Linked DNA regions of Homo sapiens: all the other regions are linked to region 4. The links are contacts of gene promoters, found by promoter capture Hi-C in blood cells and fetal thymus (Javierre and others, 2016). All regions are on one chromosome and are shown on one strand. Each heading gives the region's core, a stretch centred on a gene start or on the middle of the fragment in contact. The rest is flanking DNA. Distances are from core to core; before and after follow the strand shown. Region 1 holds the start of CPA2 (carboxypeptidase A2). Region 2 holds the start of CPA4 (carboxypeptidase A4). Region 3 holds the start of LINC03008 (long intergenic non-protein coding RNA 3008). Region 4 overlaps LOC105375508 (a long non-coding RNA gene).

Region 1 (3,170 bases), core at 46-2,545, 540 kb before region 4:
GGAAGCTTTTATTGATTCTCCAAGTACATACTTCCAGTTTATTGAACTACTGTTTATTTGATAGGTGCTGGAGACATGAGGATGAATTATGGCCTCTGCCTTTTGGTTTCTGTCTTCTCTCTGACTCCCAGGAGAATGAAAAACCAAGTTAATCCAGTCATTCTTAAAATCAGAAACACTGTGTATATACCTTTCCCCTTAAAGCAGATATTTGAGAATGCAAACCCAGAGATTTAAAGTGTGTGCTGATAAATTTGACACACAAAGGACAGACGAAAATTTCCTTGCTGCTTGTTGTGGTTGAGGCTTTCTAGGCTTAATATAACGTGTATGAACAACTAAAATTAAATAAACTATGGTTTCTAAAAATAAGCAGTTATATTTTCTTCTTAAGCAATGAAGAACAAAGTCAGATTAATGTAGATCTATGTTTATGAACAAGAAAAGATCACCTTTGTTTAAAGAACAGTATACGTGATATGGTCTAATCTTTGTTTAAGAAAAAAACTCGAAAGCAGAGAAAGAAATTTGGAAAGACATATGCCAAATGGTTTTCTTTGGATGGAAGAATTATTGATGGTTAAAGAAAACACTTTCTTTTAATTCACACTTTTTATAACAAGCAACTTCATTGTTGCTTGTTATAGGAAATGTCATCAGAAAGACATTTTCATTTTGGGAAAAAGCACAGAAAGAGGGATATCAATTTGGTGCAAATGCAGATGGATCACTTTCGAGAAAGTGCAAAATTGAATATTAAAAGGCCTTCTGTTTTGTTTTAATGTAGAGTGAGGATTGGAATGGGCCACATCTACAGGGACACTCAGCAGATGTGGACTGAGTGACTGCAGTGTTTCAAGGTAAACATTATAAAAATAAACAAATGAGCAAACTAATGGAATGTGATAGACAGGATGCCTGAGTAATTACTATAAATGCTCTGGCCTTTTTTTTGTGTGTGTGTCAGAGACCCAGAAAAGACTTTAACCTCTAGGTCTATTAATCTGGCTTCTATCACAGGGTAGCTAGTGGCGTTTTATGGTCTCAATCATAACTATATTGCCCTTGGTATGCTCTAGCAATTTTGTTCTCTTTCCATCAAAGTTTGTTATCTTATCCTAGGAATGGAACATGTACACATTGGTGATATCACACAGGTGGATGTCTACAACCTTGAGAATTTCACATGCAGGTGGGAATTTTCCCATGTGGGAATTCACGTGAGTTCTCAGAAGGCCAGCAGATCACCCTCAGCTGCCATCCCTACAAATAAAGTTCAGGAAGGACTCTGAATTCTGGACTCCAGGAAAACCCATGGCCATGAGGTTGATCCTGTTTTTTGGTGCCCTTTTTGGGCATATCTACTGTCTAGAAACATTTGTGGGGTAAGTTATGCTTTCTGGTGCTTCTTTGAATTTTACTTACCTGATTGATGGAGGCTTTGATTGTTACAGAGTAAATGGGTATAAGTGTTCAGTGTTTTCAGAGAAGTTCTCTTAGATTTGGGGATAAGTCAATAGTGTGAAAAAAAGGAGTGGATGATCAAAAAGGAGGTGAATGACATTTAAAGGAAAAGACAAAAGTGAAAACTGAACACACATAACCCTATTTCTCTCTGTCCTTACTCATTTTTCCCTCCAGTGATCAGACTGTAGGGATGATAGACATCAGGGAAAATACAGCTGTGTGGCCATTTGTTCCAGGCAACTCAGCGGGTGTCAATGCTACTCTCCCACCTCCTCCTGCTCTTCTGGGCTTTACCATCCACGTTAGCCCTTGTGCCCTAACCCCCGATCTTTAGATTCAGCACCTAGGTGGTGGAACCTCATGAAGTAGAAAGGCCAGGGCTATAGATTTCAGCTCAACTCCTCCTCTCCTGGCTTTGGAGGACTCATCTTTGCTCCAAAGTACTTTGCTTCATGATTCTATGAAGGGTTTCAGGCAGCATTTTTTGAAGAGTGGTCCAGGGAGCTAAGAAAGCAATCAAATAAGTTTGGTCCCAAAAAGCCACTGGTCAAATAAATGTGGGAATCAGAGGATTAAACAAACTATAGGATTTCTAGGAGCCTTGGCTAAATCAGTGTGCATTATAAATCTATAAGAGGGGATCTAGGTTGCAGCATGTACTCTTTTTTTTAATCATAAACTACCTACTGCTCCCAGCTTGCCCTTTCTTTCTTTCTCTTTCTCTTTCTTTCTTTCTTTCTCTTTCTTTCTTTCTTTCTTTCTTTCTTTCTTTCTTTCTTTCTTTCTTTCTTTCTTTCTTTCACTGAGTAACTCAAAGAACTACTATTCTTTAGAACACACACCAGGAAATATGACCCTGTTGTATTACTTTTCTCAGTGCCTTCCCATTTTAAAGGAGGACTCCTGGGAGTCCATGCATTAACCGAAAATAATGAGACTTAAATGGAAGAATTTTCAGACCATTTGTGGCAGGTGAGCCTCGAAGAGCTCACATTCCATCACTTCTGTATTCCACTGGAGTTCGTAGGAAATTGCATGGAGCTTGGTTTCAGAAGACCCATATTCTGGTCCCTGTACATGGCTCATTGTATTGATTCCTTCCCCACTGCACAAACAGTTGGGGCAGTGACTTAGGAAGTCTGCCTACGTGGAGAAAGGCTAGAAGGGGAAACTCTGTCACCAAGGGAACTCTTCCTAAAGAGATGTGCTTGATTGTTTTGAGATTTCTCTTTCCTGTTCATCCTTCATTCCCTATTAAGGGGGTGTGTGTGTGTGTGTGTGTGTGTGTGTGTGTGTGTGTGTTTGTAAAGAGAGGCACGGCACATAATTTGTCAGGGTCCCAACTATCTCTGGCCATGCCCCATGTTTGGGCCCCATGAATGGGGTCTGGGGATGGAACCTTGATACATTTTCAGTTGACAAAATCAAAGAACAAACAAAACCCCCAAAACCATTAAAAACAAAATCTTAGGACTACCCACATATGAATTGTTTCCTCTTACAAGCACCAAATTATTCCACTTTTTAAAAACTTACTTCTGAACAACAGGAACAGGCAAGTATTAAAAGCTATAACACTCCACAAGCAGCAGGTTTTATTTGACTCATTAGCTATGGGAAAGGTAACTTTAATGGCAGGCTTCCTGCTAGGAGCAGGTACACCTATTCATTATTATTTAGATAACATTTCCTGGGAGGAAATA
Region 2 (3,375 bases), core at 876-3,375, 510 kb before region 4:
AACACAGTGAGACCCCGTCTGTACAAAAACAAAACAAAGCACCCGTCATGGTGGCAAACATCTTTAGTCTCAGCTGCTTGGGAGGCTAAGTTGGGAGGATCACTCGAGCCCAAGAGTTTGAGACTTCAGTGAGCTATGGTCGCACCACTGTACTCCAGCCTGGTCGACAGAGTGAAACTCTGTCTCAAAAAAAACAAACACACAAATGGTGGGGACCCAAGCCAATGACATTCCTTTTTCCTGGTTGCCCTATCAAGCCTCGGTCTCAGGTTGCACACAGTTTCTCTTTAGATATTGACTCCCATTAGGGATTTAGGTTTTCTTCATGTGGATGATTTTCCCTGGGAGAAAAGGTAGGAACTAAATTTCAGCTTGCCTAGAATGCTTGGTCCTTGATTCTCCCACTTCACATCTCTTACAGATTTGGGTCTCAGTTGTTCTTGTTGCTGACTTCAAAGCTGACATCGATCTCAGTGACGCTGAGCCCACGCTTTGTGGTGGACAGGGTGGGTGTAGGAATTCAGTTGAAGTGTTGAGAGGACAAAAGGACCCTGAGGGAGCAAGAGGAGATGATGGCCCCTAGCTCCACAGCTCCTAACAAAGGCTCTCTCTGGGACCACACTTGAGATTCTGCACCCTCCTTTTGATTAGGCTGGTTCTTGAGCCCTGGCTAAGCCAGCCTGAGCAAAGATCCTGCGAAGTCATCCCTCCCACCTTGATATCTGATCAAGTTCCTCATCCCCACCTTTGATGGGGACTTTGATGTATAAGTCCTTGGCCTGCTTTTAGCAAGAATCCCCCTACCTTGATGTCTTCTCTTAGTAATCCCACTGATCCTCTCTGTTTTCTTTGCCGTATTCAGTGTTAAGCACAGTAAGTCTTTCCTACTGAAATAGCCATGGTCCTAATCATAATAATCTTGAATTAGGTCTTACATTTTAACACAGGTCAGGATAGTTTTTCTTTAACTCTCTCAACTATGACCCTTGGTTGTGTCCACTCCCTTTGAGTGGGTGTGGAAAGCATGTAGACCGTAGGGAGGGTGGGATGGGAAAGGCTGTGGGAACTGGGGCTCCCAGGACAGACTCAAAGGTCCCAGAGCCCCTGAAGGCGTTATGGAGATATGAGTGTCTTCCATTTATTCAGCTGTGACTTGGCGGAAAGGACACCAGACCCACAGTCTAGGAAGTATAAGAAAATCTTATTATTTATTTATTTATTTATTTGAGATGGAGTCTCACTCTGTCGCCCAGGCTGGAGTGCAGTGGTGCGATCTCGGCTCACTGCAAGCTCCGCCTCCCAGGTTCACGCCATTCTCCTGAGTAGCTGGGACTACAGGCGTCCGCCACCACGCCCGGCTAATTTTTTGTATTTTTAGTAGAGACGAGGTTTCACTGTGATAGCCAGGATGGTCTCAATCTCCTGACCTCGTGATCCGCCCACCTCGGCCTCCCAAAGTGCTAGGATTACAGGCATGAGCCACCTCGCCCGGCTGAAAATCTTATTATTGATAAAACCATTAAGCCTTCCCCATAGATCAGACCCCAAGGAACACTGATAATTTATTCAGACTAAAACATCCTTTCTATATCATTTGCCTGATACATTTCTATTTCCTTAGTGGAGTCAGAAGAATTAGGCTTCAGATACATAAAAGAGGCCCCAAACCTCTTTCCTCATCCTGACCTGCCCTGGTGAAATTCTCTGGCAGGGCTTGTCAAGCATGTGGTCTTGGAGCCAGCTCAGTCTTGCTTTGATAGTCTTAACTTTTTTATTATTATTCTAGAGGTAATTCTATGCCAGGTTTATAATCTGACCTCTCCTATCAGGATAAATTCCATCCAACACTGTGGAATTAGCTTATTCACTGAAAAAACACTATTTAAATGCCAAGTGATGAGCAATATGGTACCCTTGGCACAGACTTTTTCAGCTCCTGGAGCAAGTTCCTGACCTTGTAAATTGAGATGCTCAACCTTTATCACTTGAAAGGAATGGGAGAGGCATTGGTAGGGCCTGCCTGTCACAGTCAGAGTTGCAAGGGTGCTTGGGAATCACATTAGCATTTTTGAGGACTTGAGTCACTCTCAGACTCTTTATAAATACAGCTTGACTCAGCCACTGTATGACTGACTCCCCGGGGACATGAGGTGGATACTGTTCATTGGGGCCCTTATTGGGTCCAGCATCTGTGGCCAAGAAAAATTTTTTGGGTAAGTTCCTTTTGGACTTATTATTTGGTTATTTCAGAAATATGGGAGCCAAATGGAACTGAAAATGAATGGCTGATAATAGCTCACATGGAGGAAGAAGACCTGGGCTCTTGTTCCAGCTTTGCCCCTGTGTCATCCTGGACAAGTCCACTCTCTTCTCTGAGACCCCATTTCATCTGTGAAATCAGGACTAGATGATCATTGCAGTCTCTCCCCAGCTCCCTCATCTCCTGCCAGTTCTTTTTCTGCCTAGTTCTTACTTATAAGGTCAGTTCCAGGCATCTACTTTCTTACTCCTACCTTATTAATTACTAAGAGTTACTGGTTACTAAGAGCTACGTTATTAATTACTAAGAGTTACTGGTTACCAGAAATGGTTTGTTTCCAATTTCCGCCATGCATAAAGGGAAACCCTGGGTCTCAAGCTTGTTGGTTTCACTTCTTTGTTAATGGCGAAGGCTTTGCAGAGCTGGTGCCTTCTCTTGATCTGCAGTTTAATGCTCTACCCCTGAGCTACACCCTCTTCTGAGCTGGTGCTTTCTTACTGGCTTCTGGGACGTGGAGATTTCACAGGTCTTGCCTAGACACAGCTATGAAAATGACATGCAGAGACACATGCCTGAACACCGTGTGTGTGTGCGCGTGTGTGTGTGCACACACACACGTGCTCAACACGCTCCATGCAGAATACTTTGAGGTTTGCAGGGGAGAGGACATTTGGGTGGTAGGAGAGATAAAAGGGATACCATGGTGCCCTGTTAGAAGACTGAATTATAATAACTCATTACTGCATAATACTTTACCATTTGCAAAGAGCTTTCATGTACATTATCTTTTTGATCACACAACAACTTTGCCAGGCAGGGGTGTTATTTTCTTCCACTTAAACATGAAAAAAATCAGCCTTAGAATGTTAAGGAACGCGCTCAAGGCCACTTAGCTGGGAAGCAGGGGAGCTGGAACTCTGAACGTAAAACTCGTACCCTTTTGCTATAACACAAGTTCATCTCCAAATAAAATCCTATATCTCTTGGATCTGTCTCTTAGTTTTCTTTCTATTTTACTATCTGGCTAATGAGACTTTGGGGTTGTTTTTTGAGGTAATTACTTATATGAGATTGACTAAGTTTTATGATGATGACTTCTGTTCACACCTGTGTCT
Region 3 (3,537 bases), core at 68-2,567, 670 kb before region 4:
GGCAAGCCTGTATTGAATCGCAGGCCTAGAAGTTTTATCCCCGTTTCACAGATTGGCAGGCCAAGACAAGACAAATTCAGTGATTTGCCAAGGGCCAGAGAAGGGAGTCCAAGTCTGCAAGCTTGCAAGGTCGCGTTCATGAGAACTTTCATCCTCCTGGGACCCGGCGGCAGGCACATGGGCCTGGATAGTTACTGAGAAAATTCTTTCAGAAGGGCTTTCGGGGACGTGAAGTCACCCCTGGCTTCCCGGGATTCTGGGTTGGGAGCAGCCGCGCAGGGGCGGTGAAGCCAGGGGCCAGGGCGGTCCGTGCTGCGGGCGGCTCCCCAAGGCCCGGTGCGCTGGGCTACCCGCCCGCTGGCCATGGACTTGCCGCCTGCAGCGCACATGGCTGGGGAGGAAGAGCCGTGGATTTCAGTCTGTACACCCAGACGACTAAGAAGCTGCCGCCCGCTAGCGGGGAGGGGACTCGGCCGGGAGGTGGCCCCCGCAGCCCGGCGCCGCCGCGCGTCCCATCCTCGAGGCCACCGTCGCTCACCGAACATCTGGCACGTGCCATTGGTGCTGGGGTGCTGCGTGAGCGGGCCCTGCCTTCGGGAAGTTTCCATTGGGGAGGAGGCGATCGATCAGACCACAGCAAACGAGCAAGATGACCACAGTGGCCCATGGAGGGGGAATAGGAGCTGTGTGGCGTAGAAACAAGGAAAGCCTCCCGCCCGGTGTGCACGGGGAGCTAGAAAGTGTGACCAGAGTGTTCGGGGCAGGGACAAAACCCAGCTTCTGGTGTCTTCTGCAAGGGGAAGAAGCCTTGCGGTGGGAGCCAGGGGAATCCCCGCGAAGAGGCGGCCCCGCACCTATCCCGGGGCTGGGACGAAGGGTTTGGCTTCTCTAAACGCAGCGGGAAGCTTTAAGCCAGAGCCACACAGAGCATCCCTGTCGCAGGAGAGTGCCCGGGGGTCCCAGGAGGGCGAAAGCACCTTTGGGGCCGAGACACTTCTGCTCCCATCACCCCCGCCCCAGCAGGGCGCCCCTGTGCGGGGAACAGCCAGCAATCAGGGACAGCGCCCCAGGCCCCGCTGCGCCAGCACTGGCAGGAGGGACGCATGGAGGCCGGACGGAACTGGGGAGGGGGTGCTGGCCAGGGTGGGCTCAGGCCCTCCCCACTAAGGCCAGCTCGGCCCAGGGCCTCCCTGCGCAGCCCAGCGCGCCTTGTCGGAGAGGCTCCTAGGACCGGAGGGGAAGCCGCTCTGAACCGGAATGATCTGGTTTGGAGCGGGTTGGCTCCCTCCCTGCTCCCCCGCCCACTGCTCTCCCTCTCCTCCAGCGACGGGCTGGTTTTTGCCGCAGTCCCTGACCAAGGTAAACAGGAGGGAAGAGGAAAGAAGGCTGTTTCCATGGCAACCCAGGGGATAGGCGCTGTGGCTCTCCGGGATATGCGGGGGTGACTTCAGGGAGAAGAAAAGGCTCCCCGGAAAAGCCACAGGGAGGAAGGACCCTCCCATGCACACGGTGGGGTGCGTTCAGAAGTGGGGGGATGGAGGGAAAAGGAGAGGGGTCAGGCACCCTCGGTGAAGTGGAGAATTGAGCAGGGGCCTGGGGACACAGAGACACATAAGGGCCAGGGGTCATACCGAAAATGCAAGCACACAGGCTCTTCTGGCCACTCAACCCAGGGAGCAGAAAACAGAGGTGCCAGAGCTCTCAGAGATTCCGAAATCCACACCTCTCTGGTCCTTTCCAGAAAACCCTTCCAGGGGGCAGCTCAGCCTGGGGACAACCACAGAAGTGGGACCTGGGCCCAAAGACAGGTGTCACCTGAAACAGGCCACTGTTGTCCGCCTGCAGTATGCTGGGAGGACCAGCTCCCGCTCCACCCTGCTCCCCCTGGGAGGAAGGCTGACCCCTGCGTGGGAGTGTGACTGCTGGAAAGGCATCCTTGCTGCAGCTGTGAGTGTGATGGGACAGCAGAGTCACTCCTGCATGGGATTCTAGGGCTGGGGGTCCCAGAGGGGTGGCCTCCGCCCCTCCTGGGGGCCGAGGACTGTCACCATGTCACTACGGCACTCTCCAGCTGCTGACCAAAGCCCTCGCTAACCGCAGCCCTGCCATACTCTGGGTCTTTCCTCTGGAGCAAGGTGAAGAGACTGCAGCGAGGCGTGGAATTGGGAAGCTCTTCTGGTTTTATTAAAAACTCGTTCCACCACAGGAGTCAGCCTGGCCACTCAGGTGTGGGGCGGGTCTCTCCTCATTTAGCTTTCACCTGCGTGCCCAGGGATAGGAGAAAAACGGCACAGAGGGAGGTTGTAGGGAGTAAGCATCCTGCCCTGGCAAAGCTGAGTGAACGTGGGTAGCTTCAGCCCAGTGAAGCAGCAGCAGGGACGCCTGTGGAAACCTGGGTGGAGGTGCCTTCTGACCTTGGTTTGTCTGGGCCAGGGGGCGAATGCTTCTGGCAGTGGAGCTTCCAGGCCCGGAAAACCCAGGCCTCTTCTCCTCACGTGGGCCCTCAGGTGCTTGTGGACTGCCCGGAGACAGAACAGAACTGAGGGTGGGAGGGCCTGCTTTTGCCTGCAGAACACCCTGAAATGTCCCATTTACCCAGCTCTCTCCAGGGCCCGCACAGTCCAAACTTCTCTGGCCTCAACTCCTACCACTGTGCCTTTGCTCACTCTCGACCAGCCACGGTGGCTTCCTTGCTGCTCCTTGAGCGGTCAAGCGTGCTCCCTCTTTCTGGAGGTCTCCTCCTCCAGTATCCACATGGCTGTGTGCCTGGCCTCCTTCAGTTTTTTAATGTGGTCTTCTCAATGAGGCAGAGCCAGGGCTAGGGTGAGGCGAGTGAGGCAGCAAGGGCTTTCCTGCCCTCTCTGGTTAAAACTGTATAGTCTTCCCCTCTGCTCAGGACTCTCCACTCCCTGTCCTCTTCCCAAAGAATGGAACACCATCTTGTTTAGTACACACCTTGTTTATTGCCAGACTTTCTCCATTGGAATGGAAGTGCCATGAGGACTGGAAACGTCTCTGCCTTGTTCTTGTTCTGTCTGTATTCTTTAGAGCCTAGCACATAGTAGATGCTCAGTGTACGCTGTCAGATGGAGGGGTGGATGGGGGGATAAATGGGGCCATGGGGTCAGTAGGCTGTGTCCTTCCCCAGTTCCCCTTCCAACAAGTGGGAAGTGTGCTGCGGCCTTAGAAGAGGCTGGCAGAGTGGCATAACACACTCCTGGTGAAGCACACGATGTGAGGCACAGAGGTTACAACTAAAAAGAAAAACAGACTGGCCTTAAAAAGATAACGAAGGTGGATGCTGTTACTGCCACCAGGCCCGTAGCCCCAGCCAGGCTTTAAGAGTCCTTCCACATCGACCAGGTGAGGTGGCTCATGCCTGTAATCCCAGCACTTTGGGAGGCCAAGGTGGGCGGATCACTGGAGGTCAGGAGTTCAAGACCAGCCTGGCCAACATGACAAAACCCTATCTCTATCAAAACTACAAAAAAAAAAATAGCCAGGCGTGGTGGCACTTGCCTGTAATTCCAGCTACTT
Region 4 (3,426 bases), core at 701-3,200:
TGTTTGTATTTTCTACCATCCCCTGTTGGGGAGATACATTTAAAGCTTTATATGGCATGGGTACCAGCCAGTCATATGAGATGCTGGCTTGTGAGTTGTTCTAGTGCATTGTGGGTGACTGTTCTTTTTGATACAATAAAGCCTAATTCCAAGATACTGGGATTGGAAGAAAAGAAATAAATAACGGATGCGGTCTAAAAATAAAATGCATTAGCTGCTTCTGCAGCCAAGACATTGGCCTTCAGTCCTTTATTTTTTCTATTTCCTCTGTTTGAAATGTTTTTTAGTTGAAAATGACTTTCCAACTTTTTTCTTTTTAAGTATGGCAGATTCACAATAGCAGGCCTCAGATTCAGAACAAAAAATCACAGTGCAGTGGTACCAAACTTGAGTGTGCATCAGGGTCACCTGGAGAACTTGTTAGGACAGGGACTGCTGGGCCCCATCCTCAGTTTCTGATGTAGTTGGTCTGAAGAAGGACATGAGAATTTCCATCTCTAACCAGTTTGCAGGTGATGCTGAGGCTGCTGGACCAGGGACCACATTTCAGAACCACTGTGGTGCATAATCTAGATCCTGTGCCGTATGGCTGCATGGTGGCCCTTCAGACCATTCTTCTCCATTTTACATTTTATAATGATGTTTTTTGCTGCTTTTGAGAAAAGAAGAGATTATAAATCAGCTGGGAAACATTTATTTGCCCTAAATATGAAACACATTTCTCAAGACTTATGATCTCTCATGTCTTATTTTGTATTCAACTATAAAGAATCTTGGGAAGACAGTTGTGAAAATGTCTTGGATCCTTTCCTCAAATTTCTAGTGGATTTTATTCAGTTTCCTAAAGTAATGACTGTATATATTTTCTAAATACATAGCTTCAAATTCTTATAAAAGAGTGAATTAATTTCCAGTTACAAAGACATATTTGAATGATTTAATTTCTTATTGGATGTGACATTTCTATTGTCAGAGAAAATGGATCAGGCAATAAATCAAATATATATTTTAATGTTTATATTTCCTTACCACCCTCAAAATGCAGGAGGAACCAAGGAAAGGCAAAGAAAAAAGTGACTAAGCTCTGTGGCAACATGGACAGATGTAAGTCAAAGCAAGACATCCATAAATCTGGAGGGTTCTTTTTGTAGGGGAAAGAATCTACCATTCTGATATGACTGGGTTTAACTCTACATTGTAGTTATTCTTAAACGTACAAGCAAATCTTAAGAAAGCAAGCTGAGGCAAAGAAATAACTCATAAATTTTAGCCAAAATAATATGTTTTCAATTCTAAGTCAGTTCACAGCCAAAGGAATTAGGAAGGGAAACAAGTTCTTAACTTGATGCAGACCACCGCCATCTTGGAAAATGGATTGAGTAGCTAGATCTGGACCCATGACCCCAACCTAGCTGGATCAGGACATGCTTCTTGGTGGTGTTCTAGGCATAATACCTGAGACTGGATTTATTTCAGTTACTTAGAAAATGTTGCTTTAAATTGTCATCTCCTCCTAAACAACTCATGGTGCTATTGTCAGGAGGAAATGAAGTCCGAGAGTTGAAGTCTCGTATTATTAATATAAGCACAACAGTGGTACACATGACAGCCGGGTGTGGGAAGCAGCCTTGGTTTCAGTGGATCTTGGATTACTCCAGAGCAGATAACTAGGATACTTTTAACTGGAAACAGTGTTCTTCCAAATGTTATCACCCATAACTGGAGATAATGAGATTTTATCCCTAGCTAGCAAGAGCCCTCATGACTTCAGTGCAGCCACTGTGCTCACACTCTTGTCAGGACATATCTACCCCATTTTCCTCCTTGATATAATTATTAGGTCCCTTTCTGTACATATAAAAACATCTCCTTGCATGTTTAAAACAAAACTCACTCTGGTAGTGTTAACTTTCCATGCAGAGCAGAACATTTATAAATGTGTGTCTGCAGAAACAAACAAACAAAAACTTCTCGCTGTAAATAGAACAAAAAGAGGAAAAATGTTGTGGAAATTTTACTGCTGCCCGCTATTCTGTTTATATTCAGGCAAGGCAATTTTATGAAATGCGTAGAGTCAGATTCAGGGTTGAGTTTGAATTGACGTGATCTAAATGCTGGCATGGTATCCAAAAGCCAAATCTGTATCATCTAGTTTTGATATCTGGAAATGTTCGCATGATCTTTTTGACACTTAAAGGACATTAATATTACATTGCTGATGTCAGTATTCAGAAAAAATAGGATTACCTAGGCCTTTGGAATCTTCTCACTAAAGGAAGGTATTTTCCAGCTCTTTTAAGTGAATTCTAAATAATATATCTGCAAATCTGAGGACAGTCTGCCTTCCGTTACAGTGCCAGGCCAAGTCTTCTAAAATCCTTAGATTCTGTGGTTAAGGAGAAATTCTCTCCATGACACATTTTAGTTGGCAATATCAAGATAAAAAGATGCCATTTTGTGTACACGGGCCTGTCTGGTAGAAGGACTTACCAGCTGCAAGGTTTATTTGAACTACAGGATGTCTTTTTTTTTTTTTAAAGTCATGTGCTTGTTTTTGTTTTTGTTTGAGATGGAATTTTGCTCTGTCGCCCAGGCTGGAGTGCAGTGGGTGCGATCTCGGCTCACTGCAACCTCCGCCTCCCAAGTTCAAGTGATTCTTCTCTCTCAGCCTCCCAAGTAGCTGGGATTACAGGTGCTTGCCATCACGCCCGGCTATTATTTGTATTTTTAGTAGAGATGGGGTTTTACCATGTTGGCCAGGCTGGTCTCGAACTTCTGACCTCAGGTGATCCACCTGCCTCATCCTCCCAAAGTGTTAGGATTACAGGTGTGAGCCACCATGCTTGGCTATGTACTTCAAGTAGATTGGTACTTGAACTTCAAGTGGATTGGTAGATTCTAGTACCTTCTAGAAAGCATGCTTATTTTATCTGAGTACCGGATAAGGAACTTATTAAAATGGTACACTACAAGTGCCACATAAGTATTAGAAATTATTTATTTCCAGAAACTACTTTGTGCCACTTTAATGTGTAGCTGTGGCTTTAAGAGATCACTCTTAAGGAGTTATTTAATAATTACCACACGATGTACTCTTAACGTAGTTTTAAAAGTGACCTATCTAAGGACTGAGATTAGAGACAGAAATGCAGGGTCTTTTTCATATTTGATGTCTTCAGCATCTCGCACAATGACAAATACTTTGCTGAGATTGGATGTATATTTGCTGATCAAAGAGGTGGATAAATGAGCCAATAAGAACTTTCTGTTTAAGAAGACTGCTTTCTCTCCTAAATAAAATACATCTTTAGTTAATCTTGAAAACACCTATTACTTTAAACCATAATGTGTAGGGAAAGTAGCTGAGTGCTGAGCCAATTAAAGTGGAGGACTGTTGAGTGAGGTTGTTCTCTGTGATGGCCTCCC

The links. Contacts are between HindIII fragments. The CHiCAGO score rates a contact against its expected background, and 5 or more counts as called.
Region 1: a contact is called between the fragment with the promoter of CPA2 here and a fragment that was not itself captured in region 4, in 6 of 17 cell types (M1 macrophages, M0 macrophages, endothelial precursors and 3 more). The highest score is 7.5, in M1 macrophages.
Region 2: a contact is called between the fragment with the promoter of CPA4 here and a fragment that was not itself captured in region 4, in 6 of 17 cell types (erythroblasts, M1 macrophages, total B cells and 3 more). The highest score is 7.6, in erythroblasts.
Region 3: the fragment with the promoter of LINC03008 here is called in contact with a fragment that was not itself captured in region 4 in 1 of 17 cell types (endothelial precursors); the score reaches 5.8 in endothelial precursors.

The regions. Positions count from the first base shown.
Region 1 is chr7:130,265,568-130,268,737 of GRCh38, forward strand. It overlaps CPA2 (carboxypeptidase A2), which reads left to right and starts at 1,296. Exons shown (of 11, transcript NM_001869.3): 1 at 1,296-1,385. The coding sequence starts at 1,315. The HindIII fragment of the contact is 5,023 bases long and covers 4-3,170 here.
Region 2 is chr7:130,291,036-130,294,410 of GRCh38, forward strand. It overlaps CPA4 (carboxypeptidase A4), which reads left to right and starts at 2,126. Exons shown (of 11, transcript NM_016352.4): 1 at 2,126-2,213. The coding sequence starts at 2,146. RefSeq lists an enhancer at 2,531-2,620. The HindIII fragment of the contact is 9,413 bases long and covers 1-2,636 here.
Region 3 is chr7:130,140,414-130,143,950 of GRCh38, forward strand. It overlaps LINC03008 (long intergenic non-protein coding RNA 3008), which reads left to right and starts at 1,318. Exons shown (of 2, transcript NR_149034.1): 1 at 1,318-1,359; 2 at 1,846-2,205. RefSeq lists enhancers at 552-1,215, 628-707, 888-1,027, 1,216-1,879. The HindIII fragment of the contact is 6,567 bases long and covers 904-3,537 here.
Region 4 is chr7:130,806,070-130,809,495 of GRCh38, forward strand. All of the region lies in intron 3 of LOC105375508 (a long non-coding RNA gene), which reads left to right. The region is part of intron 2 of LOC105375509 (a long non-coding RNA gene); the gene reads right to left. Among named protein-coding and RNA genes, the nearest start is that of MIR29A, 69 kb to the right of the region's middle. The HindIII fragment of the contact is 3,814 bases long and covers 44-3,426 here.